Linked DNA regions of Homo sapiens: all the other regions are linked to region 1. The links are contacts of gene promoters, found by promoter capture Hi-C in blood cells and fetal thymus (Javierre and others, 2016). All regions are on one chromosome and are shown on one strand. The core of a region is centred on a gene start or on the middle of the fragment in contact, and the rest is flanking DNA. Distances in the headings are between cores, read along the strand shown.

Region 1 (4,382 bases), core at 637-3,136:
TAGACAGATGGGAAAGGCAGGCGCGGCCTTCGTTGTCAGTAGTTCTTTGATGTGAAAGGGGCAGCACAGTCATTTAAACTTGATCCAACCTCTTTGCATCTTACAAAGTTAAACAGCTAAAAGAAGTAAAATAAGAAGGCAATGCTTGTGGAATGTACAGTGCATATTGGCGGCGCACGCCTCATTACGATTCGCCTGCTTGCTTCTCCTGTTCAATCGCTGTGACCAGAAAAAAAAAAAAAAAAAAGATGGAGGGAGATGATTAAAGGATTCAGTACAGACTAAAGGGCTTTCATTTAAAGCATCTTTTCAAATCATAAACATTCTACACGGTATTCCACAATGGAATAAAATATGTATATTGAATATACTAAATAGAAATACATTTTAATGGATAAATGTTTGTATATTAATATGGCATATTAAATATTCCATTACTAAATTACTAAAGCCCCGTGTTTGTTGGCTGCAAAACCATTTTTAATTAACCTTTGCAAGCCACATTCATCAACTGTCGGCTCTTCCCCCGCACTCCCCCCTCCCGAATTCTTCCCGCGGCCGCTCCCAGCCTCCCGCCCTCCCACCGGCCGCTCCCACCCAGCCTTTCTAAAGATGGGGGTGGGTCGGAGCTCACTTTCTTTGGAAGGCAGTGGATTTTTCTCTTGCGTCTCTGTCTTCTTCAGTTTCGACTTATCGAATTTCTCGATCTCAGCCATATCGGGTTTGTCAGACATGGTTGCGGAGGAAAAGCTGCAGGGAGCAAGCCAAGAGCGAGCGTGAGGAAGAGCCACCCGCCCCGCTGTCTCTGGGCTGGGAACTGCACTTCTGCCCTCCGACCCGCAGCCTGAAAAAAACCCTTCTCGCTCTCCTACTGCTGCCGTTCCGCGCTCACGAGCTTCCTCTTTCTACAGAAAAAGAGGCGACACCCCCCGCGCCCCTCCTCCCCATATTTCAAAACGCTGTGGACCAAAGAGGGCGGATGCCTCTCAAAGCCGAATCTTGCAGAATAAAGGAAATTGACCACTGCGAATTGTTAATTACAGCGTTTAAAATTAAAGGCTGGCTAGGACAAGGAAAGAAGAGGAAAGCCACTTCCAAATTCAAGTGGGAAAAATCGGCAAGAATTCCTAAAATGGAGCCCAGGTAGGAAAAGCGTTTCCATTTCCTAGCCGCGGCCTCTCCGCAAGGATGCGGGCCGGATCCGGCTTTCTAGTCCTCTCACAAAGGCGGCGGCCGCGGCTGGAGCTTCCGACCACCGCCCTACCGGCTTCATCGCCCGCGTCACAATGCAGCCCCGCACACAAAGCGGCCGCCGCGCGCCCCGAAGCCGGTCTTGCCTGCTCTCCCGGCAATTCGGCATCCCTGGCACACATGTCTCTGCAAGAAGGACTGTAAAGATGTCATAGCACAGCCCCGCCGCCGCCAGGCTGCACAGATGCAGCCCGCGCAGCCGTCCGAGGCTGGGAGGAGGCTCGGGGCTCGGAAGATGAACCTCAGAACAAAGGACTTGTCTATTCCCCCATATCTCAGCCTCCAAGGCAACGCACAATACCTTTGCGGGCAAACACTAAGAAATTTTTTAATGTCCCCTCCGAGCGGCACGGCAAAACGCCAGTTTTTCGGTTTTGTTCTTAAATCATCGATTTCCCCACCCCATTATCCAGTATCTAGGGTGTTTCGCATCCCCCCAGCTCCCCAAAGTAGCCTTCCCGGGGAGAACCACTCGGGCTCGGATTTAGGGAATGCCTTCACAGGGACGCGGATGATGAAAGGGCGGGGACGGAGGCAGGACGGCAGGAGGAAGGAGGCAGGGGCCCTGGGGCTCACCGAAGCGAGGCGCACGAGTACGAGCGAAGTCTGGTCTGCGCAGTGGCCACCACCGAGTTGTCGGGCGGGGTGCGGCGGGCGCAGCTTTATGGGCGCTCCTATGTAAATGAGGTGATGTCACCCGCCGGCCCGCTTAACTCCTTCGCGCCGCGTCTCGGAACGGCATCCGGAGGCCTGCCGGGCTTTTGGGGAGGGGAGCCCCACCCCCACCCGGGGTCCACTAGTGCATGCACCCTAACCACAACGATGGCGAAAAAAATGAGCAAAGCACCCTCCAACACTTCATAACACATTTTCCCCTTTTACGTTTATTTCATTACGATGAATTTTTGCAACAGCAGCGCAGAAATTGCTCTTGGGGACCAGTGCATAATAACTAAGGGTCGGGGTGGCACCTGGGGTGACAGGCATTCTTTTATTTCGAAACTGCCTTTGTCTACTGTGGACATCTCCACACAAGGGCGCGGTGTCCCTCCCTGGAGGGCCTGGCCCGCTGCAGGGGTACGATTCCTGTGACTCAGCTTTCAGTCCAGTGGCGGGCATGCGCCCCACCCCGGGCCTCTTTGTCTTCCTCGCTGGCGTTCCTCTTGCCTTGGGTGGGACGTAAAGCACCCTTAAGTGATTTTAAAAGAGAAAGTTTCATCACTGAAACATCCATATTGTTTCATCAGCATAATTTTTGTGAGCACTCAACAGTAGTATTTGCTGGGTGTAAGGTAATTTGGAGTTTATAGGGTAAAACACCTCCCTCTTAGCAAAATAAGTCAAGCTCAAGCTCTGCCATTGACTTTACTGCCGGACAATGAGGAAGTTCTTTACCTTCCTCTTCCTTATTTTCATAAATTTTAAAAGTGATGGCTAAGGAGGCCAGCGTTGAATTCCAAAGACTACAGTTACATTATCTCTAATGTCTTAAGATGAAATTCAAAAATCAAATTATATTTTCAAGGGAGCGTTTCCAGCACTAGGACATCGCTGAAGTGCATCTGCATCTGGAAATATAAGAGATTCGGGTAGAGGGAAGCAGTTTTCAAAATGGCACCTGACTCTGTGAATACCAGTGACCCACTTGCTACTGAAAATTAGTTACAAATACCATGCCACGCGCCTGCAAATGGCGTGTGAAAGGAAAAAGACTCGCCGGTTATAAAGAGGCCTAGCTGTGATTATTTCTAAGAGACAAGGCAGTGTGCAAAATATTCCTTCTCCTTTTCCGTGGCCTGGGGAAATGTTTTTAGAAACCCCTTGCTAATCATTTTTATGGCACAGGCTTTTGTCTCGCTGGGGATTAGAGTCAACCTTATATATAGACCCTTGAATGCCACTGCCAGCAGCTTGGACTTCCCCGTTTCTCCATCTACTTGACTTCCTTTTTCCTGGGGAGGAAGGAGGTGGGGGTGAGCAGGGGCAGGTGACCGTCTGGTCCCCTAGTTAATGCTCTGCTGGGTGGCTGCCTTCCTGGCCTCCGAATGGGGCACTGGACCTGTTCGTGCATGCACCAAATGTCACCTGTCTGGTAACAGCCCCCCCGCCCCTGTTCCATGTTGGGAGTCTACTTCATCGTTGAAACACAGAAAAGATCTTGCAGGGTGCCTTTTCGCCCGTTTAGCTGGCAGCTGCCGTTGTACCGACACCGTTTCCGCAGGTTCTGTGATTCTGTTTCCCCTCACCCAGCTGCTGTCGAAAATCATTTCTTTCCTCCCAATGTCTCCTGATGACAAAGGAGTGCCACTACCTTCTCCTGGCTTCTTCTCCCAAGGGCCTTTCCTCAGAAAGGGTTAGGCCTCACTGAAGCAATTCTCCAAAGGAGATGGACGAATGCAAACTTGGAAATGTCTGGAGAAGTTTTCCAGTGCGGTAGCAAGCAGCCTTCCACTGTGCTGAGACACTGATGGAGGGCAGGTGGAAACAGAGAGGAAGAGAAAGAGAGACGACTGCTTAAAGGAAAAGAGTTCCCATGATTGGGACTGACCTGCCAACCGGTCAGGAGACCTAGAGAGACAGGAAAGGGAAGGGTGGTGCAGATACAAGGAAATGCAAACCAAAGGAATATTCTTAAAAGTTGCATGACTCTGGCCATGTGAATGAATCTTTCTGTGCTGGAGTTTTCTCATCTGTAAAATGGGTTCATTGCAACACCGACCTCACAGGGTTGTTGGGAGGAGTAAATGCTTCGGACAGTGCATGACAATTAGTAAGCTCTTTCTATTGTTATTATTCGTATGATTTAGGATGGAAGGTTGAGGAAAAATAATAAAATAATTGTCTTAGTGTTTAGAATTAATTAAAAATTTTAGGTGTCTTGATATTATTTCTCCTATAGAGACATTTATATATTATTATATATTATTTCTATATAATTAATACATATGAATATATATTATTATTTTCACTTACAAAATGTTGATAGAAGATCTTTTGGTAGTTTTACAGCAAATAAAACATGACAACTCCTGTCGGTTGATATTTTCTAAGAGTCAGGCATTGTAACGTAAGTTTTACATTTGTTTTTTCCTTTCTTTCCCACCGCCTTTCCATAAGAAATTTCCAGATGG
Region 2 (4,382 bases), core at 1,003-3,502, 790 kb before region 1:
ATGGTGAAACCCCATCTCTACTAAAAATACAAAAAAACTAGCTGGGTGTGATGGCATGCACCTGTGGTTGGTCCCAGCTACTCGGGAGGCTGAGGCAGATGAATCACTTGGACCTGGGAGGAGGAGGGAGATTGCAGTGAGCCAAGATCGGACCACTGTACTCCAGCCTGGGCAACAGAGAGAGACTCCATCTCAAAAAAATAAAAATAAACATTCTTGTATTCCATCAAAGGAAAAAATAAATAAAAATCACTTATTTAAAATCTGATAAGTTAATAATTCATTTATAAGCTTAGCTCAAACTCTGAAATTATTAGTCATACTGAAATTTTTAAAAAGTAAACACACACATGAAAATCATCATGGTAGAAAAATGAGGTGATACATCTGTACTTGTGGTTGTATCACAAAATAATAATGACCCAATTTGTAACTGCTTTTCTTTTTAAACCAATGGATACGTTTCACCAAAACTAAGCTTTCTAGATTTTCAACATATAAAAACTGGTATTTATATTTGAACTTACATTCAAAAGATGATTCAAACTCCTCATTATCCTTAAAAGCTAGCTTGTCCACATCTGAAAATTCACTTTTGTCTTGAAGTTCAGTTTGTCTTCGATAAAGACTAGATTGGAAGGATAAAACTCGTGAAGTTTCAATAATGGAAAACCAAAGAGTACAAGGTGACAAAAAGCCTTTTGTGACTCAAGAAAAGGCTCTACAAAATTCCCTTTCTCTTTGTCTTGTAAATAGCTCCACCTCACCACCACCACTAGGCATTGTTCTCAGCAATTAATACCTGTTTAATCAGTTACTCCTTGTAACTATTTCATGCTGTGAAGTAGGTACTACAGTTGTTAATAAAGAATAATGTTGTACTCTGAATGCTATTCCTAGGAAATAACCATAAAACATTTCTGAAAAAAAATTCTGCACACTATCAGCATGAACCAGATGAAGATGCAACACCACAACCTTGAGTGAGCAAAGCGCCCTAACTCAGCATATGTGTGTGTCTTATCCTTCCTTTTGGCTTATCACAAAAAAAAAAAAAAAAAAAAAAAGCTTTAGGACTACGACAGGCCCATGTGGCAGAGAACTACATTAACATGCAGATGCCCGAGATCGAGCCTGGAGCTAAGGAGTCAGTTCCCTCTGCTGTGGGGCCCAGGTATGGGTAGGAGTCTGCTCATGACTCAAATCATAGCCTGGCTGACCCAGTGGACTAGTTTCTAAAAACATCCACTCCTTCCTGTTTCAACAATCATACACCAGAGCCTGCTACCACGTTTGAATTTATTTCAATGATATGCAGGTCAGAACCTTATCTGTTTATATTTCAATGCCAAAATATTTTAAAAATGACTTTTTAATGATGTGTAAAATTGTTCCAACTTTATAAATAACCTCCATTTGTTTGCTTTCAGATTTTGTACATTTGTTTTTTATCTTAATAAACCAAATCTATTCACAGAACTAGGAAGATGCTTATTAATACCAGATTGCATGGTCCATATATCAAGTTTAGCAAATAAGCATTATCCACTTATTTGCTAAAAGCAATCTTTTTCCCTCCAGGTAATTTAGATGATTCTCAAAGATGACATATCATTTTGCAATCTGATTGCAAATTCTATACTGCCACATGATCTATAATAATTATCTCAAAAAAAAAAAATCCCAGTAAAACAAGTGAAGGCTGACAGAGCAAGTAACATTATTCAGCTGAAGCTAATCAATCAGAACGTTATACTTACCCCACTTTCTGCTCCGGAGGGCTGGAGACAGGAGGGATGGAGAGGCTGTGCCTAGACTCAGTGGGTGATGGTAGGGGCATTCTGTCAGGACAAGGACTGGGGGAAGCAATGTGTGATCTGCCCAGACCTAAGGTGCAGAAAGAACCAAGGCAAGAATATTACCAATTGCACGGAGAAGATACCAACGTGGTTTCTAAAGAGCTCTACTAGTTTGAAAATAAACTGTTATCCTCACAAATAGCCAATTATGATGCATAAGATCCAGAAAACTAATGATTCAAGCACCTAAATTAAATTGCAGTGGCAATAATAAAATGCAGGAAACCAACAGGCAGCAAAGGCAAGGCAACTATCACTCTCTAAACAGCTCTGTGTGCCAAACACTAGACCTTGCCACTCTGGCCCGCTGACCCTCACGGCAACCCTGTGTCGTGGGCAGGGTGGCTACCCAACTCCAGAGCACCCCGCAACCCTTTGTGCGGGTGGCTTACCTTCCAGATACATTTCACTTTCGAGGCTTCTTTTTGCTTTTGGAAGGGGTGTGGAAGAGAGGCGTCTGGAGGAAGTGCCCCCGCGGAGCCTCGAGGCTGCACTGCCTGTCAGTGCTTCCACGACGTCATTCCTTTCTTCAAGTGTGCCCACTTGAGGCTGCTCAGAGACAACTCTGTCCTCTCCAAAAATATGTCTTTCCGGGGAACTGGAAGTAATGTTTTTGAAGGCTTCCAGCAAGTGCAGAGATGGTGGGCTCTTTGCTGCTAGTGGGCTTTTGGCAGAGTTTTTAATGACTCTCCGATGGTAACTTCTGAAAGCCTTTTCCAAGCGTTCGGCCTCTTGCTGAAGCTCTTTGACCCTTGCCTTAGTATTGGCTACAAACTCAAGGTCAGAATCAGGGGAACTACCCTCCACCCATGCAGTTGGATAATTTGTGATCCTTGATGCAACCATACGTGCTAGAACGTTTTCCTGTTTAAAAGGATTGTTCAAGAAATCCCCACTTATCTCACCATTGCAAGGCACCACATTGCCATTTATTAATCCATTGACAGAACGATCGATCACAGACTGCTTTGGATTGCAGTACACTTCATTCTCTAGGGCTGCAGGGTACAAAAAGCCAATTTCAGAAGTAAGTGGACAAGGCAGAGAAGAAAATATACTTGAGAATATTATTTTTTTGAAAAATGGAAGAGAGTAATAAGGACAAACTTGCACTATACAGTTTCTGAAGCCATGGTAACGATAACCACTAACATTTACTGAGAGCTTATTGTACCAGCTACAGCTTTGTATGTCTTTTGTAACATGATATAATTTCAGAATCCATTATGCACAATTTTGAAAGCCACAAGGCTCTGAGAACTGAAAATTTATTCATAATTTATTTGGTGGCAAAGCCCAACCAGACTTGAACTCATTTGGTTGAAAAGTTTGACCTGAACTGATGTAAACCCATTTATAATCTTTATTTATCCCAGCATGAATATTCATACAGTTGACTGCAAAATAATTAATGTGCTTTACTATAGGATGCTGTTCAGAACTCCCAGGGCTATTGCGAAATCCACAGCATATGGCCCGAGTTTCATATAAGGAAGTGAGGACCTGCATTCACAACAACACTGTGGTCAAGAAACTCTCACTGCTCCCATTTTACAGATGGGGGGACTAAAGCTTACTGAGGCTGGGTCACACGGTTAGCAAGTCTAAGAGCTACTGGGCTTTCCTAATGCAAAGCCAGTGCACCTGCCCCTCTCTCCTGCAATGCCTCCCCGTGATGCTACAAGAAAGAAGCTTGCCCTCGGCAACACATGCATGCGAAAGAGTTCTATCCTCATTCAACTATTTTTTATTGATAGGAGACTGCTATGATTTCAGCTGTGAGAAGTTTCACAAACAGAACTGAAAGAAAATGAGGAACAGAAAAAAGCAGAAACGAGTAGAGATAAAAATAAAACAAGTGCTGGTAGAAGAGAGCAAGGAGCTGATGAGGAAACAATGCAGGTGGGAACAAGGAAGGCTCAGACCCAGTTGAACTGGTAACACATACGTACTTTCTTTGAACTTGAAAGCAACTGAAGAATAAAGTATCTGAACTTTAATATCCTTCTTACGAAGTAGGAAGGGGCAGAGATGCATCCACAGTGAAGACACAATAATAAAATGATACCAATAACCATTTCCTGAGTGTCTTTTATGTCCCAGGCACTGGACTGAAACCCATTTCATCTTTTTCATCATGGCTCAGTAGGTATTATTATCCCCATTACAAATGAGGAGACTGAGGCCCAAGGAAGTTAAAGTAACATGCCCAAGGTCAAACAACTTCAAAACGGGTCCAAAAGAAGAACAGTTCTGATTCTGAAGGCAATATTCTTTTTGCTAAACCACCCTGCTTGTCCTGTATATTTATATATCTATCAAGGAATCCGTAAAACTACTGAATTGGTGTTAACATTGGGGTAACAAATAAAAAAGGAAATCCTATAATGAATATGGGGACTTCTATGTTACCACCACGCCTTTCCTATTGGGGCATGAGACTCTCCCAAGCCATGAGGCACCTATGAAGCAAAATACTTTTGCTGATGATCCAGATGGTATTACCAAAATGGATAGGGAGTT
Region 3 (2,871 bases), core at 372-2,871, 740 kb before region 1:
TCCCCAGTGACACCTTGGCCATACACAGGAAGCTCAAAAGCAGCACCAGAGGTGATACCACCCAACTTGCTTGTCAAGAATGGTTCCAAAAACCAAGCTTAGCTCGAGGACATATTGCCATTCAGACCCATAGAGTATTTTTTTTTTTTGAGACAAGGAAATGGACCATATATTTTAAGAAAGATTACCATCCCAAATGCTTAAAATAAAACCATTTGGATCTTATTTATTTATTCTTTTTGAGACAGAGTCTTGCTCTGTCGCCCAGACTGGAGTGCAGTGACACGATCTCAGCTCACTGCAACTTCTGCCTCCTGGGTTCAAGCAATTCTCCTGTATTAGCCTCCCAGGTAGCTGGGATTATAGGTGCGCACCACTGTGCCAGGCTAATTTTTGTATTTTTAGTAGAGACAGGGTTTCGCCATGTTGCCCAGGCTGGTCTCGAACTCCTGACCTCAGGTGGTCTGCCTGCCCTCGGCCTCCCAAAGTGCTGGGATTGCAGACATGAGCCACTACACCTGGCCCAGACCTGTAGAGTTTTGACACGAGAAGAGCCCAGTTCTTTCCAATTTCTGTTTCTAATAAATTGCTGACAAGTTTGCTATGTTTCTCCCAACCTCCAAAAATTGGCTTTAATGTCCTTTAAGGAATTGATGTTTTAAGTTAATTGTAATGCATAATATATGGTATTTTTCAACTATTCAGGCCTTGCCACCAAAATAAGATAGGCATTTGTTTACGGGATTCTCTATGAGGTGGAGTTGTGACATTATTTTCTCATATTATGAGAACACTACTCATTAAAACTTGTTTTTGAGGTATCTCTGTACCAGTACTGCTTTGTGGGATGCAGCTACTTGTATGTAATTTCTGTGCACTCCACTGCCCTTGTGTTGGACAAAGCACACATAAAAATACTTTGTTGCATAACTTGATTTTAGTTCTTTCTCCTGCTACCACTCACTTTCTTAAAGCGTTTTCAGTTTGCTCCTAATTCTTCAGGATTGATCATCATTGTAAAAGAAAACACTGCTGTGAGCCAGACACAAAAACATCCATTTCTCTAAGGATTCACTTAGCTTTGTCATGGCAACATGAGTGAAGTAAAACATGCTTTAACTATGCATGGGATTCCACGGCAACGGGCCGCCCTCCTCCAGCCCAGGCATGAGAACAGCCTCCTTGGCAAGGAAGCCGTCTCAGTTTCCTATGGCTGTTGTAACAAAGTACGAAAAACTGAGTGGCTTGGGACAGCAGAAATTTATTGTCTCAGTTCTGAGGGCCACCATCTGAAATCAAGGTGTCAGTGGGGCCATGCTCCCTATGAAGGCACAAAGACAAGGGTCTGTCCAGGCCTCTCTCCCAGCTTCTGGGAGTTCCTTGGCTTGTGGCAGCATAACTCCAGTCTTCATGTGGCATTTTTCTCCCTGTGTGCATCTCTAAATGTTCCCTTTTTCTAAATACACCAGTCCATTGGATTAGGGGCCCACCCTACTCCAGTGTGACCTCATCTTAGCTAACCACATCTGCAACAACCCTCTTTCCATATAAGGCCACATTCTGAGGTACTGTTGCTTAGGACTTCAACAAAGGAATTTTAGAGAGGAAACACTTCAACCCATAACAGGTATTCTTTGAAAAATGGCTTGGGTTTTTTTGAGACGGAGTTTTGCTCTTGTCCCCCAGGCTGGAGTGCAATGGCGTGATCTCGGCTCACTGCAGCCTCCGCCTCCCAGGTTCAAGCAATTCTCCTGCCTCAGCCTCCCGAGTAGCTGGGATTACAGGCATGCACCACCACAGCCGGCCAATTTTTGTATTAGTAGAGATGGGATTTCACCATATTGGACAGGCTGGTCTTGAACTCCTGACCTCAGGTGATCCACCTGCCTCAGCCTCCCAAAGTGCTAGGATTACAAGCATAAGCCACCGCGCCTGGCCAAAAAATGTATTTTCAAAGAACTACATTGGAGTAAGACTGCATTCCAAGTTCTGAATTCCGTCTTCACATTATGGTCAGACAGTCCCACCTTCTGTTCACTTAAGCCATTTCAGCCCAGGAAAAGGACACTCCCAGCTCTGACAGGACTGTGTCCTGCTATTGACACAGGCGACTGCTCACAGCTGGGGCTGAGCATCACCTCCCACTACTCCTAGGTCCCGCTGTCATGTAAGCTCCATGCACTGGAAAGAGGCCTCTGGCAGGCCGTTATAAGCGCCATTTCAACTGTCTCTACTGCTTACCTGGTGCCACTGTGCAGGAAGCCCCGCCCTCTCAGTTTCCTCCCAGACCTTGAGGCCTAGTGTGAATGGCACCTCTTCTCCACAGGATCTTGTTTTTTTTTTTTTTTTTTTTTTTTTTTTTTAACATAGTATCCTTTTTTTACATGTTTAGATGGTTACAGAATTCGGTAACTTCCTTCTTGAAACATGAAAAAAAATTTATATGAAAAAGATTTTCAATAAATGATTTTGTATAAATCCTCTATATACACATTTCATTTATTAATTGGCTGTTTCTGTTGAGATGTAGATATCAAATTTAAAAATAGAATATAATATGAAAACAGATCTTTTATAAGTCTCATGACAATAACAAAGTATAAAAGCAAACTGTTTTTTCCCCACAAGAAAACCATCTATAGAATTTACAGAATGAAATGTCAGCATTCTCGATGCCATATGCAAATGTTAATCTGTGGTTGCTCACACTGTCATCTAGGACGACCATCGTCATCTGAACCAGTTCATAGCTCATGCTGCTCTCGACCTCGTAGATGAGAACATGTGGCTATCGAACAACATGTACTTGAAAACTGTGGACAAGTTCAACGAGTGGTTTGTGTCGGCATTTGTCACTGCGGGGCATATCCT
Region 4 (4,382 bases), core at 1,041-3,540, 730 kb before region 1:
ATGTGTAAACCTGGGGCTCTCTCAATCACACTCAGATTCCCCATGCCACTATCTTACGGAGTTGCCTGAGTCCATGAGAGTCCAGCCACCTGGGGGACTTAATTTACATGCAAACATGATCCTGTAACACAGGCCAACTATTTCACTTGCTGAGCTACAGTTAAGGAAAAAGAGGTAACTTCTAATATCAGAGGTAAACTAGGCTGTGTTACACTGTGTTAATGAGAGACTGTACATCGGTTTCTAGTGTGATGTGTTCCAAAGCAATGTCTCCATGATCATTTTAGCCACGTGCTGCCATGAGAACACAGCCCTCACTAAAGTCTGATTCTGCTGGAGGGAGATTTGACCCAGGGGAAGTAGGTTTGACCACAGGCTAAGCTCAGCAGGAGAAAGAGAAAACTATGAGAAAAGAGGAGGGAGCAGGAACCAGAAAGTGGAACCAATCCATGCCAAAGCCCTGCCAAAGAAGCCTGGCCCTGGCATGAACTGGGAGAACTCAAGGTAGGCCTGAGCACCCGGAGGCTAGAGAGTGAAGAGTATGCTACAAAGACAAGACTGAAGGAAGAGGCCCAGGAGCAGGGAGGCGAGTAGAAGCCATGGAAAGGATTTCTGCCTGTACTCTAGGAATGATGGGGACCCTCTGAAATAGCTTCAGCAGTGGGTGACCTGGTCAGATAAGGAGTCCAGAAAGCTAACTGGATGCAATGGGAGAAGGGCTGTGGGTGAGGTGGGGAGGAAGGCCTTGGACAAGCTGGGATGGATGCTGCTATGATCCCTCTCCACTAACAGTGTCAGCTGGGCTTACGAATGAAAATTGAGGTGGTTATACCTCACACTTGATCCTCCAGTAAGATATTTACTATATGACTTCGTGTTTTACCTTGTTCACATTCAAATCCCTGGCCCTTTACCTGTCTAACTCCTAGTCAGCCGTGTGGATGCAGCTAGACCTCACCTCCTCCCGAACACCTACTGGACATCTCCAACTGAACCCCCTTCCTCGACACTCTTAACCATCCTGTGCGTGCCTCTACCATTTACCATAAGGAATTCTGTAATTGACATGCCTACTATGTCTAATAAAAGTGAAACATGCTCTCTTAACCCACATTACATGGATGTGTACTATCCAATTACAGAAATGTCCATACATTTCTGAGTTGTCAATGTTTTAGATTGCACCAAAAAAATGCATACCCATACTATTATCAAACCACCTTCCCCTAAAAAGAAAGACAATGTCCATCAATTAATGAATGGATAAATAAAATGCATCATACATCCATGCAATGTTGTAACGTAGATAAACCTCAAAAACATTATGCTAAGTGAAGGAAGTCAGAACAAAAGGCTACCTATTGTATGATTCCATTTATATAAAATGTTCAGAATAGGCAAATATGGAGATGGTAGATTCATGGTTGTCAACGGATGGGGCGGGGGGCAGTGGCAGGTAAAGGAGGAGGGACTGCTAATGGGTATGGGGTTTTTTTGGGGGGGTAATAAAAATATTCTGGAATTAGATAGTAGTGATGGTTGTACAACTCTGTGAATATACTATAAACACCAATCAACTGTATACTTTAAAAGGGTGAATTCGGCCAGGCGCCATGGCTCACGCCTGTAAACCCAACACTACGGGAGGCAGAGGCAGGCAGATCACTTGAGCTCAGGAGTTTGAGACCAGCCTGGGCTACATGGTAAAACTTCATCTCTACAAAAAATACAAAAATTAGCTGGACATGGTGGCGCATGCCTGTAGTCCCAGCTACTCAGAAGGCTGAGGTAGAAAGATCACCTGAGCCTGGGGAGGTCAAGGCTGCAGTGAGCTGTGATCACATCACTGCACTCCAGCCTGGGTGACAGAGTGAGACCCTACCTTGAAAAAAAAAAAAATTTTTACTGTATGTGAAAATATATGTGCAAATCTCCTGAGAATTAAAAATATGACCCTAGAATTAGATTTACACTACTAGAGCTACAAATGTTCTCCTTGTCCCTTCAGCAGCATCCCTTTAAATAAATCATTTACATGTACAACAGACACTACTTTAGGATTCCCACACCACGTGCCGGTACCAACATATGCTGTATGTGTCATACACTAATCCGAATGTAAAGTTGGATAAGCAGGTCACTGGCAGGAAAACAAATGAACCACATTGCCAGCAGATACGGCAAAATTCAAAAGACAAAAGAACATTTTATGTTAACCCTTTCCTTCTTATAACACTATTTTCCCAACTTTTCCATTATGTACTTTTATCTTATACTATCAATTGTTCATGAATAGTTTATCAGTAGTACCCTTTTCTCTGGCCTTCTCCAACCCCTTGCTGGCTTCCAAAGCCACATCCTACAATAAACCAAGGGGAAGAATAGAAAGCCTCAAGGTCCAAGCATCAAGAATTTAAATCTGCTGGCCACGCACGGTGGCTCATGCCTGTAATCCCAGCACTTTGGGAAGCCGAGATGGGCAGATCACTTGAGCCCAAGAGTTCAGGAACCAGCCTGGGCAACATGGTGAAACCCCATCTCTACAAAAAATACACAAATTAGCCAGGTGTGGTGGTGCCTGCTTGTAGTTCCAGCTACTTGGGAGGCTGAGGCAGGAGGATTGTTGGAGAGGCAGAGGTTGCAGTGAGCCGAGATTGTGCCATTGCACTCCAGCCTGGGTGACAGAGTGAGACTCTGTCTCCAAAAAAAAAGAATATAAATCTCTAATATGACTGTGTATGTGACTGAAGTTAGACTTTTTTTATTGGTCCTGGATCTAATTGTCTCCATTCTGACAGATAACTAAATTCATTTATTTATTATTTTTATTATACAGGATTTTGAGCATGGCATTCAAAGAGCTATTCAATGTCAGTTACAAGCCTGTCCCAATTATATCCCTACTACTCACCATCCCCGCACCTATCACTGGCATTTTCTGTCCATATCTTTGCTCGGGCTGTTACTTTGGCCTGGGAGGCCCCTCCCTACTTCGACAGCTATGACAATCTTAGTCATCAGAAGCCTAGTCCAGATTACCTCATGTAGGAAGCCAGGACCGCCCCAGCAACCTAATCTTTCTCTTTTCTTTGCTCTCATCATTTCCACCTCTTTACAGCTCTCATTTACTTATGCTCTAATCACCTTCAGTTGTGTATGTGTCTGTTTCCTAATTACAATGTCAACTCCCTGGGAGGGACACACAACACCTAATTGCATCCATTCACTTGTCCCTTTTTTGTTCTGCCACTTCTCGTACAATGCTCTACATTTGGTGAGGTGCAAATAAATGCTACATTGAGAACGAAGAGTATATTACTTCCTCTTTTATTCTTGTTATTCTATTATTATTCTATTTGTGCTTTCTGTACCTAAAATTCTTTGTTTCTCTATCAGTTCTCCCCGCATTCTATTTTTGAGGTCTATTAAAATGTGTGGGTAGGAACAAAAACATTGATTCTTACTTGCAATCCCAATGAGAATCCCACTTTAAAATAAGTACTATTGACTGACTGCGACAGGGAGCTGGCAAATGCTGAAAAACGACTACATTCCTTAATAAGCTGCCAAAGGGAGAGCAGGCATCATTTGTAAACTGCCTTCTCAAAACTTGAGATTTTAAAACACATACTCTGTAACCCCTCCAAAAACTTAAAATGAATTTATCACTCCTGGTTTAAATTTAGGAACAGATTTTTTTTTTTTTTTTGGTCAAATTCACAAGTTCCTTTGGATTCACCCTGAATGTCCTACTTAGAGGTGTACTTACCACTTCATTTCACTTCATAGCTTGAGGAAATGAGGTTCAAAGAAAACCAGGGAAACAAAAGCATGGATAATCTGAAAATTATTTCTATTTTTGCTGGAGCTGTATTTATTTCCTCATAGCTTAATTTAGGCGTGTCTCACTTAACAGCCTAATTGGTTCCACTGTTTGTTTCTAAAAACTTCCTGATTGTCTTACAGAAATTTATGAGCAAGAAGCAAGTCAAGGAAAGTCATTATGTCTAATGGGTACCAGCTCTACAGCAAGAAATTACCAAGAAAAATAAATAAAGAATTAAGAAAAATACTGTCAGAAAATACCATACTTAGTGTGCAGGAAGAAGCAAAAGAAAGAAAAGGAAATACCATAGGAATAGGCCAACTTGGAGGCAAGACCTGCCAAGGTGAAATAAATTATCTAGTCCTATCTAGTTAATCACTGAGCATTACCTCAAGAACAGGAGGCAGCTAGAGGAGAAAAACTGTATTATCAAACCATACTATCGCTATGTCAGAGCACCTCCCCTATTGAAAGAACTTATTTCAATTAAGTAACTTTTTTTGAAGCTGAATCAGCTAACTTAACTTTTAAGAAATATGTTAACATTTTTCTTAAA
Region 5 (4,382 bases), core at 709-3,208, 700 kb before region 1:
AATATAAATGCAGGTAAATGGAATTCTATCTCTCTTAAAACTTATTTATCTGTCAGCTTAGGCTAAGTTACGCTGTGGTAAAAAATGACCTCCACAAACCTCAGTGGCTTATAAAAACAAAGATTTATTTCTCACCTTAATGTCCATTATGGGTCAGCTGTGGTTCCCGTCCATGTCATCTTCCCTCTGGACCTGACGAACCTGAGCTAATGGATCAGCTTCTGTCTGATATATTGCAGGTATCACTGGTTGAGAGAAAAGAGACCAAAAATAAAACCCCTGCTGGCTCTTGAAGCTTCCACACAGAAGTGATGTTCATCATCTCCCCTCATATGATGTTCACCAAAGCAAGTCACACATCGTGATGTATAATCTTCCTAAAGAGAGGGACATTGCAAATCACATGGAAAAGCCTGATCTGAGTGATGTGGTATCCTACAATGGTCCCACCGGGAGGGTCATCAAATATTTGAACAAGAATACAATCTAACACAGACTGTTATGACTCAGGGCTTTTTTTTTTAAATTATACTTTAAGTTCTAGGGTACATGTGCACAACACGCAGGTTTGTTACATACGTATACATGTGCCATGTTGGTGTGCTGCACCCATTAACTCTTCATTTACATTAGGTATATCTCCTAATGCTATCGCTCCCCACTCTCCCCACCCCATGACAGGCCCTGGTGTATGATGTTCCCCAACCTCTGTCCAAGTGTTCTCATTGTTCAATTCCCACCTATGAGTGAGAACATGCGGTGTTTGGTTTTCTGTCCTTGTGATAGTTGGCTCAGAATGATGGTTTCCAGCTTCATCCATGTCCCTACAAAGGACATGAACGCATCCTTTTTCATGGCTGCATAGTATTCCATGGTGTATATGTGCGACATTTTCTTAATCTAGTCTATCATTGATGGACATTTGGGTTGGTTCCAAGTCTTTGCTATTGTGAATAGTGCTGCAATAAATATACATGTGCATGTGTCTTTATAGCAGCATGATTTATACTCCTGTGGGTATATACCCAGTAATGGGATGGCTGGGTCTAATGGTATTTCTAGTTCTAGATCCTTGAGGAATTGCCACACTGTCTTCCACAATGGTTGAACTACTTTACAGTCCTACCAACAGTGTAAAAGTGTTCCTATTTCTCCACATCCTCTCCAGTACCTGTGGTTTCCTGACTTTTTAATGACCGCCATTCTAACTGGTGTGAGATGGTATCTCGTTGTGGTTTTAATTTGCATTTCTCTGATGGCCAGTGATGATACACATTTTGTCATGTGTCTGTTGGCTGCATAAATGTCTTCTTTTGAGAAGTGTCTGTTCATATCCTTTGCCCACTTTTTGATGGGATTGTTTGATTTTTTCTTGTAAATTTGTTTAAGTTCTTTGTAGATTCTGGATGTTGGCCCTTTGTCAGATGGGTAGATTGGAAAAATTTTCTCCCATTCTGTAGGTTGCCTGTTCACTCTGATGGTAGTTTCTTTTGCTGTGCAGAAGCTCTTTAGTTTAATTAGATCCCATTTGTCAATTTTGGCTTTTGTTGCCATTGCTTTTGGTGTTTTAGACATGAAGTCCTTGCCTATGTCCTGAATGGTATTGCCTAGGTTTTCTTCTAGGGTTTTTATGGTTTTAGGTCTAACATTTAAGCCTTTAATCCATCTTGAATTAATTTTGTATAAGGTGTAAGGAAGGGATCCAGTTTCAGGTTTCTACATATGGCTAGCCCGTTTTCCCAGCACCATTTATTAAATAGGGAATCCTTTCCCCATTTCTCGTTTTTGTCAGGTTTGTCAAAGACCGGATGGTTGTAGATGTGTGGTATTATTTCTGAGGGCTCTGTCCTGTTCCATTGGTCTATAACTCTGTTTTGGTACCAGTACCATGCTGTTTTGGTCACTGTAGCCTTGTAATATAGTTTGAAGTCAGGTAGCGTGATGCCTCCAGCTTTGTTCTTTTGGCTTAGGATTGCCTTGGCAATGCAGGCTCTTTTTTGTTTCCATATGAACTTTAAAGTGGTTTTTTCCAATTCTGTGAAGAAAGTCATTGGTAGCTTGATGGGGATGGCATTGAATCTATAAATTACCTTGGGCAGTATGGCCATTTTCACAATATTGATTCTTCCTATCCATGAGCGTGGAATGTTCTTCCATTTGTTTGTGTCCTCTTTTATTTTGTTGAGCAGTGGTTTGTAGTTCTCCTTGAAGAGGTCCTTCACATCCCTTGTAAGCTGGATTCCTAGGCATTTTATTCTCTTTGAAGCAATTGTGAATGGGAGTTCACTCATGATTTGGCTCTCTGTTTGTCTGTTATTGGTGTATAGGAATGCTTGTGATTTTTGCACATTGATTTTGTATCCTGAGACTTTGCTGAAGTTGCTTATCAGCTTAAGGAGATTTTGGGCTAAGACGATGGGGTTTTCCAAATATAAAATCATGTCATCTGCAAACGGGGACAATTTGACTTCCTCTTTTCCTAATTGAATACCCTTTTTTTCTTTCTCCTGCCTGATTGCCCAACTCAGGGCTTTGTTATTAATCTGGTAAATTTTAAATTCCATAACATGAATGAAATGAATTTATCTTGAAAAATCTATTTTTCTGGAGATTGGGTTTGAAACATTAGTAATAGTAATATTTGATCCCATTTATTAAGGTTAGATGCAGGGCTTCTAAAGTGTGACATCACTGTACAAAACCAAAGCAAAGATGAGGGCATATTGAAATTCTACTGTAATTTGAAGTAAAAATCTATTTTGCAAAATTGCATTAAGCATCTGCCAAACCTAGAGTTAAACCTTGGGGCTTTGAGGGGATGTAAATCTCACTACTAAGACCTGCATAGGAAACTTGATGGGCAATTAAAGAAAAAAAAATAAAACATGTTCACAAATAATATAAAGCAGTGATAAGATAGAGCAGAGATGGAATAAAGGAAGTTCATAGGATGGGCTAAGTATGGAATTCTGTAGCTTAGAGATATAATGGAATTGTGTGAGGAACAGATTACTTTTCAATAAGTCATGCAATGCAAACAATTGTATACCACCCCCACACACACGCGCACATACACACACATACATATGTATATTTTTTGAGATGGGGTCTCACTCTGTCTCTCAGGCTAGAGTGCAGTGGCACAATCTCAGCTCAACAAGCAATTCTCTGGCCTCAGCCTCCCAAGTAGTTGGGACTACAGGCATGAGCCACCAGCTAATTTTTGTATTTTTAGTAGAGACAGGGTTTCACCATTTTGCTCAGGCTGGTCTTAAACTCCTGAGCTCAAAGCAATCCACCTGCCTTGGCCTCCCAAAGTGCTGGGATTACAGGCATGAGCCACCATGCCCGGCCTACATATTTTATACCACAGGATATGTATGTTTGGGAGGAGACATACAGGGGAGAAAAAAATTGATCCAACTTCTAAGCATTCCTAAATTTTGTCCTTACTAAACACAATGGCTCTAGTGATGAAATTTCATTAAATTCTTTTTTGCCAAATAAGTTACAAAACTAGGGTAAAATATCCTTGCTTCCTTTTTTTTAAAGAAAAAAAAATCTTGTGACCTTCATCTGTAGATAACAGTGAGTATCTGAATTTCAAAATGTCAAGCTTTGCATGTGGTTAATCAAAAATAATTTTTGACACAAAAGTTGGAAGGAGTATAATTGTGACAGGTAGAAATGTCAAATTATTTATGCAAATTCAGCTAAAGATGTACTTTAAGTAAAGGTCAGTATAGTTTATTTGGTTAGTAAAATATGGTTTACTTCTTGAGTTAAGAAAAAAGAAATGATGTGAAAGAAGCCAGACACAAAAACCTACATATTGTATGGTCCCATTTGCGTGAAATGTCCAGGATAAGCAGATCCATAGAGACAGAAAGTAGGTGGCGGTTGGGGGGCTGGGGGCTGGGAAGAGGGTGGAATAGAGAGTGGCTATTAACTGGTACTGGATTCCTTCTTGGGGTAATGAAAACATTCTGGAATTAGATAATGATGATAATCGCACAACTTTGTGAATATACTAAAAGCCACTGAATTATAACAAAAATAAATGCATATAAACTTTAAAAAACTCGTGAGTTACAAATAGTGTTTATGTATATGATTTGGGGAAAATTATTTTCAAAGAGTCACTTCTAGAATTACTAACATATAGCCAAGTACAGTCTGTAATGCATGCTAACAGACAACTAAGTCAACAACCACAAAATCACCAAACAATTTTAATAACCTTTTCAACTATATTCCTTAAGTACCTGCAGGGTCTTCCGGCAAGTAAAACAGTGAACAAATAGAATTTTTTTAATCTCCTTTTCTTTCTAACAATGCTATTGAACATTAAAACAGAAAATAACACACAAGAAAGGGAAGGA
Region 6 (4,382 bases), core at 240-2,739, 640 kb before region 1:
TCCTTGGGTAAACTAAGCATCTACACTCTTGATACATCCCTTCATACTAGGTTTTGGAAATATGTTTTTTTTTTTCTTTTTTTGAGATTTTTCACTCTCTATTAAGGCAGAGAATGTCACCGGATGCTAGTTCTTGGACGGGTGGGCCTGTGTCTACTTTTCCTTTGGTTAAATCCATCTGGCATTTGTATATATGACCACCAGTCACAGAGCCGAGACTAGATAAGGCAAAATATAGAGGGAGCAACAAATGCCCAGCCAGAATGAATGGGAAAGTCTCAGTGTAGAGATGCAGGGTGGGTTAATATGGAAACCCTCCTGGGGGGACTGAGCCTTATGGTGGGTTCTGCACAGCAACTAGTGAAAAGGGAGTTACGGCAGTTCTCTAGTTCACATAGAAAACTTAAGCTCCACTATAAAATTTGTCCTCCTACATTTGTCGATTTTGGCTTTTAAAATCACAACCATACAACTGTGAGGTTCCATTTTCATAGACTAGGCCTGTAAAAGTGCCTTCAAGAAATAAAAAGGTAGAGCTTAGCAGATCCATGTGGTGAGCCTCTCTTTGATTTGGGGGCATGCCTCATGGAGAGCTGGGCAGCCAAACCACTGCCCTTGCAGGACTAGCAGGCTTCCTTGGCTGGAAGCTAGAAGAGAAGGTCTGTGTCAAATAGGAAACCCCCCAAGTAGGGGAACAGGACTTCCCCTCCTTGGTTCCTAGAGCAGCAGGTTTGATTGGGTATTTGCAGAAGGTATTCGTTTCTAGACATTACAGAGAATGTTGCTTCTCAGGACTTAAGACCCAACCCATTTTACTTAAGCTGTGAAACCGGCTTTTTGTCTTCTTTCATTTGCCAGGAGAAATTGCAATTCATTTTTCATAAAACATATAAAATAAAAATAACACTCACAAAACACATCTCCTCGCAGGCTTCGCTCCTCTATGTCATTCTTCAGGGCTTTCTCTTCTCTTTTCTCATCCTCAAGCCCCTCTTTCATTTTCTCTTCATTCCCTTTTTTACCTCCATGAGAGTTCCCGCCTCTGGAAACTATCTCTTCATAGTTGAAGGGCTGCAAGTTCACCTTAGGGGTAGGAGTCCTGGTGGGTTCTGGGGTAACATTTTTAATTTTTGCCTTCTTTTTCATGCTGTTTTTGTGAGCAAGCAACTTCTTGATTCTGTCTTTGATGGTACCAGGTGCTCTGAGGACTTCCTTCACAGAATTTTCAGGGATAGCTAAAACAAATAAGAGGCAATATGTTCCAAATTGGAAGATAATTAAATTACTCACAAAATGGAGCATTTAAAAAGTGTTAAAGTGTAGTAAGTGAATGCTTCCAGAATGAACCCACATGAGGCTCTACTATTTGATGATAAATTAGGAAGAACTATATTTGTATTGTTTTAAGCAGTTCCACTGTTATGGTAGTTATCTTAATTACCTTTTGTTGCTTTTGTTTTGCTTCGGAGACCACTTTAGTGAAACACTTATTACTACCCAGTTGGGCTACAGATCCCAAAGACATGGATTTGCCATGTTCGTCTAATATTTCTGCTTTCATTGTGGTATTCTTCAAAAACTGGTATTGTCCTGATAGCCCTATAGATTTGTCCAAATTTGATATTCAAAAATTACAGCTACAGCATTAGGTTGAACCATATAAATTGCTAATAATGGACCATTTGTGACCTACAAAAATGGTGACTTATGGTGCAATATACACATACCCAATTTTCTTTCTCTCTTCTCTCTCCCCTTTGAATTTTTTCACCTCAGTCAACCATTATCTAAAGCTAAATGAGTTTATTTATTAAATATTTCAGAGAGGCTTCTATACTTACTATTTTTCATTCGTTTTCTATTTCCCACCACAAAAGTAAATTACTTTAAAAATGTACCTCTAGTCTCTCTACTAAAAATACAAAAAATTAGCCGGGCGCGGTGGCGGGCGCCTGTAGTCCCAGCTACTCGGGAGGCTGAGGCAGGAGAATGGCGTGAACCCGGGAAGCGGAGCTTGCAGTGAGCCGAGATTGCGCCACTGCAGTCCGCAGTCCGGCCTGGGCGACAGAGCGAGACTCCGTCTCAAAAAAAAAAAAAAAAAAAAATGTACCTCTAGATCAATTCTTCTTATCCCTCAGTGGACTAATGACCCTTGGAGGAAAAATGTTGGTGTCGAAGAACGCAAGAGGTACAAAAAAGTTCATTTAGTCCAGGACTCTTGTCTTGTCGATGAGGCAACTGGGTGTTAAGTGACTTGCCCAAAGGCACTCATCATGTTAGGGACGGAGCTAAGATTTGGCAGTAGAGCATATGAATGACTATTTTTCTTTTCTTTTCTTTCTTTTTTTTTTTTTGAGACAGAGTTTCACTCTTGTCACCCAGGCTGGAGTGCAGTGGCATGATCTCGGCTCACTGCAACCTCCCCCTCCTGGGTTGCAGTGATTCTCCTGCGTCAGCCTCCCCAGTATCTGGGATCACAGGTGCGTGCCACCACACCTGGCTAATTTTTGTATTTTTAGTAGAGACGGGGTTTCGCCATGTTGGCCAGGCTAGTCTCGAACCCCTGACCTCGGGTGATCCACCCACCTCGGCCTCCCAAAGTGTTGGGATTACAGGTGTGAGCCACCATGCCTGGCCATGAATGTCTCTTTTTTCCAGTCCTATTTCTATGATAGATTTATTTCTGCTTTAAGATTAAGGTTACTTTTCTCTAGACTGTTTCAAATTCCTTGAGATCTATAATTCAAAGATATATGTCTCCTTTTCAGGGATATACTCATGATAATTCAGAATATCCAACTGATGTAAAGAAGTAATTAATTTTTAAAAAATTAAATACACTGATATTTGAAATCAAATATATTGTCTCACTATAAAATATCTAGGCATGTACTAATCTAAGACTAAGCAAGAAAGGGTCTAATAACACCTCAATCAATTCACTTAATTCTATTATTTGGACATAGTTTAGAGAGAAGTGAAACAATGGAGTAGACATTAATTTTGATGCCTAAAAAGAGTACTATAAAAAATTGGAGTGGGATTTTATTAGAATATTTTTCTTAACAATGTTTTAACCTCTTCTCCTGCTTTGTTCCTTCTCCATCATTTGGCTGATTCAATCTATATCAAAGTAGTAGAAAAATAAACAAGCAGAAGTCCACAATATTTGGGGTAACCAAACGGGGGAAAAATGCTTTGAAAATATGTATGCTCTTAATTAATAATTGCTTTTACTTTGGAATCAAAAGAGCAACATTTTTCTTTTCAATGAAATATTCTAGTTATTTATCATTGTGACAGCCTGACTATAGGTAGAAAACCAACAAGCACTAATACAAGTAATGCATCATTACTCATTTTCCTGACCTTCAGATAGCCTGTTTCAGCTACTTTGCCAGAGATTGCATGTTAAGTTATGACCGTAATGTGTGATCATATATAGACCTTCCTCTGGAGGCCCCACTGTAATTCCATCCATGGTCGACTGCATCTTTCTCCAGCACCTGGCAAGAAAAATTAACAGGAAACCCCTATTCCCTGCAAATTTCCTTTTTGCAATCAGTAACATAAAACTAAAGACCTTTAATAAATAATGAGGAAAGGGTTTCAGCTCACACCAGGCAAACCTAAACATCTGCTTTCAGTTTCTGCTTTGAAGTTTCAAATGTTCCTATTGAAAAGAAACAAAAACTAAAACATCATAATCTTGATAGTGTTGACAATTTCATTCTCTTAGTATGTAAACAGAAAGCTGGGCAAGGATAAAAATGCACTTTAATGATATGCATATGCATAAGTAGATTTGGATTTATCTAGGTATTGCTGTTTCAAATTTGACATTATGACGGTTTTCTCTTAAAGATTTATTGATTATTGCATCATCTTTTTGAGAATATAAAAATGTGGGAGGGGCCAGGCATGGTGGCTCACGCCTGTAATCCCAGCACTTTGGGAGGCCAAGGCAGGCGGATCACTTGAGGTCAGGTGTTTGAGACCAGCCTGGCCAACATACATCGTGAAACACCGTCTCTACTAAAAATACAAAAATTAGCTGGGAGTGGTGGCAGGTGCCTGTAATCCCAGCTACTCAGGAGGCTGAGGCAGGAGAATTGCTTGAACCCAGGAAGCAGAGGTTGCAGTGAGCTGAGATCATGCCACTACTCTCCAGCCTAGGCAACAGAGTGAGACTCCATGTCAAAAAAAAAAAAAAAATATGGAGGGAGTTGCAGTAGGAGGGTCTTTGGCACATTTGGGGAACTCAGATATAAAACTTAGGTCTTCAGGTTCACAGGCCAGTTTTTTGTAAAGTTGACAATTTCTCTCGGGAGGTATTTGAGATTTCTCCAAACACCCATGTTGTCAAACACTTCTATCAACCT
Region 7 (4,382 bases), core at 944-3,443, 540 kb before region 1:
TCCAAAAGACAGGCAATAACAAATGCTGGCAAGGATGTGGAGAAAAGGGAACCCTCAGACACTGTTGGTGGGAATGTAAATGAGTACAGCCATTATGGAGAATGGTTTGGAGGTTCCTCAAAAAACTAAATATAGAGCTACTATATGATCTAGCAATCCTACTTCTTGGTATATATCCAAAAGAAAGGAAATCAGTATATCGAAGAGATAGCTGCACTCTTGTATTTGTTGCAGCACTGTTTACAGTAGCTAAGATTGGAAGCAACCTAAGTGTCCATCAACAGATGAATAGATAAAGAAAATGTGGTGCATATACACAATGGAGTAATATTTGGCCATAAAAAAGAATGAGATTCAGTCATTTGCAAAAACATGGATAGAAATGAAGATCATTATGTTAAGTGAAATAAGCCAGACACAGAAAAACAGACATTGCATGTTTTCACTTACTTTGGGGATCTAAAAATCAAAACAATTGAACTCATGGGGATAGAGAATAGAAGGATGGGCCGGGCACGGTGGCTCATGCCTGTAATCCCAGCACTTTGGGAGGCCGAGGCGGGCAGTTCGAGACCAGCCTGACCAATATGGAGAAACCCTGCCTTTACTAAAAATACAAAATTAGCCAGGCATGGTGGTGCATGCCTGTAATCCCAACTACTCAGGAGGCTGAGGCAAGAGAATCGCTTGAACCCAGGAGGCAGGGGTTGCGGCGAGCTGAGATCGCGCGCCATTGCACTCCAGCCTAGGCAACAAGAGCAAAACTCTGTCTCAAAAAAAATAGAAGAATGATTTCAAGAGGCTGGGAAGGGTAGTTGGGGGCAGAGGGGCTGGAGGGAAGGCAGGGATGGTTAATGGGTACAAAAAATAGTTAGGATAGATGAATAAGGCCCAGTATTTGATAGCAAAACAGGGTGACTATATTCAATAATAATTTAATCATACATTTAAAAATAAATAAGAGTATAACTGGATTATTTGTAACTCAAAGGAGAAATGCTTGAGGGGATGGATACCTCATTTTCAATGATGTAATTATTATGCATTGCATGCCAGTATCAAATCTCATGTACCCCATAAATATATACACTATGTACCCACAAAAAATTTTTAAAAAATTTTAAATGTTGAATAACTAGTGAATAAACTATTATACATTCATACAATGGAATACCATGCATCTTTGAAAAAGAACCAGGCAGCTCTTTTTATATCAATATGGAAAGGACTCCAAGCCATAACCCCACCCCCACTTCCCCAGGACTGAAGCACTTATCCCTTCGGATGCTGGAAAAGTTGGCAAATGACACTTTACAGCTGAATTCCCGTCTGGAAATTGCCCTTGGCTGAAGAAAGCCACCTCTCCAAGTTTGTGACCCCTTTCTTGGGCAGCCCACTTCTAATGACTGATCAGTGTGAGGTTATAAAGGCCTAGCCTCTTTGTGCTAATTTGAGACAACTCGTCAGAGCCCTCCCAAGTCTAGAACTCTCGCAGGATTGCATAGGTCTTTGTTGTGACTTGCATAGCAGCCCAAATCCTCCCTCTGCCCAGTCTGACTTCCTTTACTCTCCCAGAAGTCTTGATCTGCAGGGTCCCCACCAATGAACTTCCTGCATACAAATCTTCATCTCACAGTAAGCAACCTGTGATGATGGTTAGATGCAAAAAGCAAAGGGTATAGCAGCATGTGCCACGTGCTACCATTTGTATTAAAGAGGAGGGAGGAAAGGCTCTAAGAAGCTGTGTTGGTGCCTTTACTTCCCTTCCTTCACACTTTGAGAGTCCCTAAGAAGTCTGCAGCTATCACAATGTCAGTATGTCTTCGTGATTCTTTTTAGAGTGACTTCTTAACTTGAAAAGTGCCTGTAATTCCTGAAAGTATGAGAAATTGAATGCAGGCCAGAGTGACCCTTGCATGGCTGGTCCCAGGAAGCATCCAGGAGGTTCCCCTCACAGTCTGCTGTGGGAAACACAAGGAACCCACAGTCTCTCCTTAGAGGAGGACACCATTCACAAAATCTCACGCTCAGACCTGTCTGCTGAGAAGACAAATGATCCCTTAGCTCAGAGGTGCCTCTCATTTTGCTGCCAAATTTCTTTCTTGACCTTTGACCCCATTGCAGTCTTCTTTCATTTATCATGTGCTTCCCTTCATGAAAGAATTCTTTAGGCTGAGTGTGGAGGCTCACGCCTACAATTTCAACACTTTGGGAAGCTGAGGCTGGTAGATCACTTAAGTTTGAGACCAGCCTGGGCAACATGGTGAGACTCCAAATCTATAAAAAATACAAAAATTAGCTGGGTGTGATGGTGTGTGCCTGTAGTCCCAGCTACTTGGGAGGCTAAGGTGGAAGGATGGCTTGAGCCCGGGAGGTTGAGGCTGCAGAGAGCTGTGATTGCACTACTGTACTCCAGTCTGGGTGACAGAGTGAGACCCTGTCTGAAATAAATAAATAAATAAATAAATAAATAAATAAATAAATAAATAAATAAAAGAATTATTTACATTAAATTCCTGGGTGTTCCTCTTTCCCCAATAAAATATTCCTGAGATTTGCCTCAGAAGTGGTAAGATATGTTCAACATTTTAATTCACTTGTTCATACATTTGTTCATTACTTCAACAGTTACTTATAGCATCTCTTGTGTACTGTGCTGTGTGCTAAGGTGTAAATATTTGTTCAAGTCTCCCTCTTCTGGAAAAACTGTCCCATACTGCTGCCTCCTTCTCAAGCTATTCTCTTATCTCACTTCTTCCATTTTCTGTCAAAAGACCAATTTCAACCCAGTGTCTCCACTTCCTCACCCCTCCTTTTATTTCTAAACCCACAACAATCTAGCTGTTATCTCCTCAACTCTGTTAAAATACTTCTCTGTCATGTCACTATATTAAGGAAACTAACACTAATTTGGGTAACAAACAACCTCCAGTTCTCAGGGGCTTAATACATTAAACAGTTATTTCTTGTCCTGTCATTGCATTTTTTTTTTTTTGAGACAGAGTCTTACTCTGTCACTCAGGCTGGAGTGCAGTGGTGTGATCACAGCTCACTGCAGCCTCTACCTCCCAGGCTCAAATGATCCTCCCACCACAGCCTCCTGAGTAGCTGAGGCTACAGGTGCACGCCACATCCGGCTAATTTTTGTGTTTTTTGTAGAAATGAGGTCTCACCAAATTAGCTGGGCATGGTGGCAGGCACCTGTAGTTGCAGCTACTTGGGAAGCTGAGGCAGGAGAATGGCATGAACTCAGGAGGCGGAGCTTGCAGTGAGCCGAGCTCCTGCCACTGCACTCCAGCCTGGGTGACAGAGCGAGACTTCCTCTGAAAAAAAAAAAAAAAAAAAAGAAAAAAAAGAAATGAGGTCTTACCATGTTGTCCAGGCTGATCCTGAACTCCTGGGCTCAAGCAATCATCCCTCCTCAGCCTCCCAAAGTGCTGGGATTACAGGTGTGAGCCACCATAACGGACCTAAGATATCCTTTTTGCATATCAAAAACTTTTGCACAACAACTATGCAATATTCTGCACGTGCCCTTTTAAAATTTTAATTTACTTTGAGACCATTCCATGTCAATATGTTTGGATTTACAGCTGCATTATTACTGTTATTTTATGTGGTCTTTCCTCAGTCTTGACTCTCATTTCACTAGACTCTTAGAACACTGGTTTGTCAGGTTAGGAATGAATTCAGTGATCACATGGTCCCAACCTCTCATTTTACCCATAAAGAACTACAATCTGCCATAGTGGAAGGATATTTTTTAGCTGACCCTTTACTTGGGTCATATCTGAGGTTTCATAAATCTATGAGTGCATTAGGGTCCTCTCAAAAGGTAAGTTGAGGCCCATAAAAACCACCAGTGCACATAACACATATTAAGTAGTCAGTATGGATACACTTCTTACAGCTAGAAAATGAACTCTGTGGGATGTGTTGCCTGACAATGAGCAGAAAGTCAGGGAGGACTTTCAAGTTCCCAGCTTTGGGATTGGTAAGTCATGATGTACTAACTGAGGCTAGGAACAGCAGTTCCAGGGGGAAGTTGATGGGTGCAGTTTTGGATATGCTGAACTTGAGCTGGTCAAAGGAAGTTCACATGGAACTTTCTAAGCAGGCAGTCAGATATATTAATTTGAAAGAGTGCTAAGGCTGGAGATGCAGAGTGGAAAGTCATCATTTACAGGATACAGCCAAAGTCATAAGAGTGCATGAAAATATGCAAAAAAATTATAGAGAGAGCAGAGCACGGGGCCACGGGAGACACTGGGGAAGACCAATATTTAAAGAGTGGACATAGGAGAGCATAAAAGATAGATATAGGGAGTCAGAGATAGAAGGAAAAGCGGGCAAAAGCAATGTCAGGTCAGGGGCAGAGAAGT

The links. Contacts are between HindIII fragments. The CHiCAGO score rates a contact against its expected background, and 5 or more counts as called.
Region 2: a contact is called between a fragment that was not itself captured here and the fragment with the promoter of TMSB4X in region 1, in 1 of 17 cell types (total B cells). The highest score is 5.8, in total B cells.
Region 3: a fragment that was not itself captured here is called in contact with the fragment with the promoter of TMSB4X in region 1 in 4 of 17 cell types (naive CD8 T cells, total CD8 T cells, naive CD4 T cells and 1 more); the score reaches 11.3 in naive CD8 T cells.
Region 4: a fragment that was not itself captured here is called in contact with the fragment with the promoter of TMSB4X in region 1 in 2 of 17 cell types (total CD8 T cells and monocytes); the score reaches 6.5 in total CD8 T cells.
Region 5: a contact is called between a fragment that was not itself captured here and the fragment with the promoter of TMSB4X in region 1, in 1 of 17 cell types (M0 macrophages). The highest score is 5.9, in M0 macrophages.
Region 6: a contact is called between a fragment that was not itself captured here and the fragment with the promoter of TMSB4X in region 1, in 1 of 17 cell types (megakaryocytes). The highest score is 5.2, in megakaryocytes.
Region 7: a contact is called between a fragment that was not itself captured here and the fragment with the promoter of TMSB4X in region 1, in 8 of 17 cell types (neutrophils, M0 macrophages, erythroblasts and 5 more). The highest score is 10.5, in neutrophils.

The regions. Positions count from the first base shown.
Region 1 is chrX:12,972,614-12,976,995 of GRCh38, reverse strand. TMSB4X (thymosin beta 4 X-linked) reads right to left here and starts at 1,886. Exons shown (of 3, transcript NM_021109.4): 1 at 1,828-1,886; 2 at 635-750; 3 at 1-219. The coding sequence starts at 734. The coding sequence ends at 185. RefSeq lists enhancers at 329-1,167, 2,007-2,846, 2,970-3,089, 3,110-3,369, 3,380-3,449. The HindIII fragment of the contact is 8,223 bases long and covers 1-4,382 here.
Region 2 is chrX:13,758,590-13,762,971 of GRCh38, reverse strand. It overlaps OFD1 (OFD1 centriole and centriolar satellite protein), which reads right to left. Exons shown (of 23, transcript NM_003611.3): 16 at 2,252-2,857; 17 at 1,761-1,887; 18 at 528-628. Among named protein-coding and RNA genes, the nearest start is that of OFD1, 26 kb to the right of the region's middle. RefSeq lists enhancers at 1,723-2,222, 3,529-3,618. The HindIII fragment of the contact is 2,363 bases long and covers 1,071-3,433 here.
Region 3 is chrX:13,716,527-13,719,397 of GRCh38, reverse strand. It overlaps TRAPPC2 (trafficking protein particle complex subunit 2), which reads left to right. Exons shown (of 6, transcript NM_001011658.4): 4 at 2,720-2,864. It also overlaps a transcript of OFD1 not described here. Among named protein-coding and RNA genes, the nearest start is that of TRAPPC2, 17 kb to the left of the region's middle. The HindIII fragment of the contact is 3,043 bases long and covers 100-2,871 here.
Region 4 is chrX:13,698,292-13,702,673 of GRCh38, reverse strand. The region is part of intron 1 of RAB9A (RAB9A, member RAS oncogene family); the gene reads right to left. Among named protein-coding and RNA genes, the nearest start is that of RAB9A, 11 kb to the right of the region's middle. The HindIII fragment of the contact is 5,121 bases long and covers 1-4,382 here.
Region 5 is chrX:13,676,352-13,680,733 of GRCh38, reverse strand. No RefSeq gene overlaps it. Among named protein-coding and RNA genes, the nearest start is that of RAB9A, 11 kb to the left of the region's middle. The HindIII fragment of the contact is 3,321 bases long and covers 298-3,618 here.
Region 6 is chrX:13,614,583-13,618,964 of GRCh38, reverse strand. It overlaps EGFL6 (EGF like domain multiple 6), which reads right to left. Exons shown (of 12, transcript NM_015507.4): 8 at 912-1,235. Among named protein-coding and RNA genes, the nearest start is that of MIR6086, 26 kb to the right of the region's middle. The HindIII fragment of the contact is 6,179 bases long and covers 1-4,382 here.
Region 7 is chrX:13,509,846-13,514,227 of GRCh38, reverse strand. No RefSeq gene overlaps it. Among named protein-coding and RNA genes, the nearest start is that of EGFL6, 58 kb to the left of the region's middle. The HindIII fragment of the contact is 4,936 bases long and covers 1-4,382 here.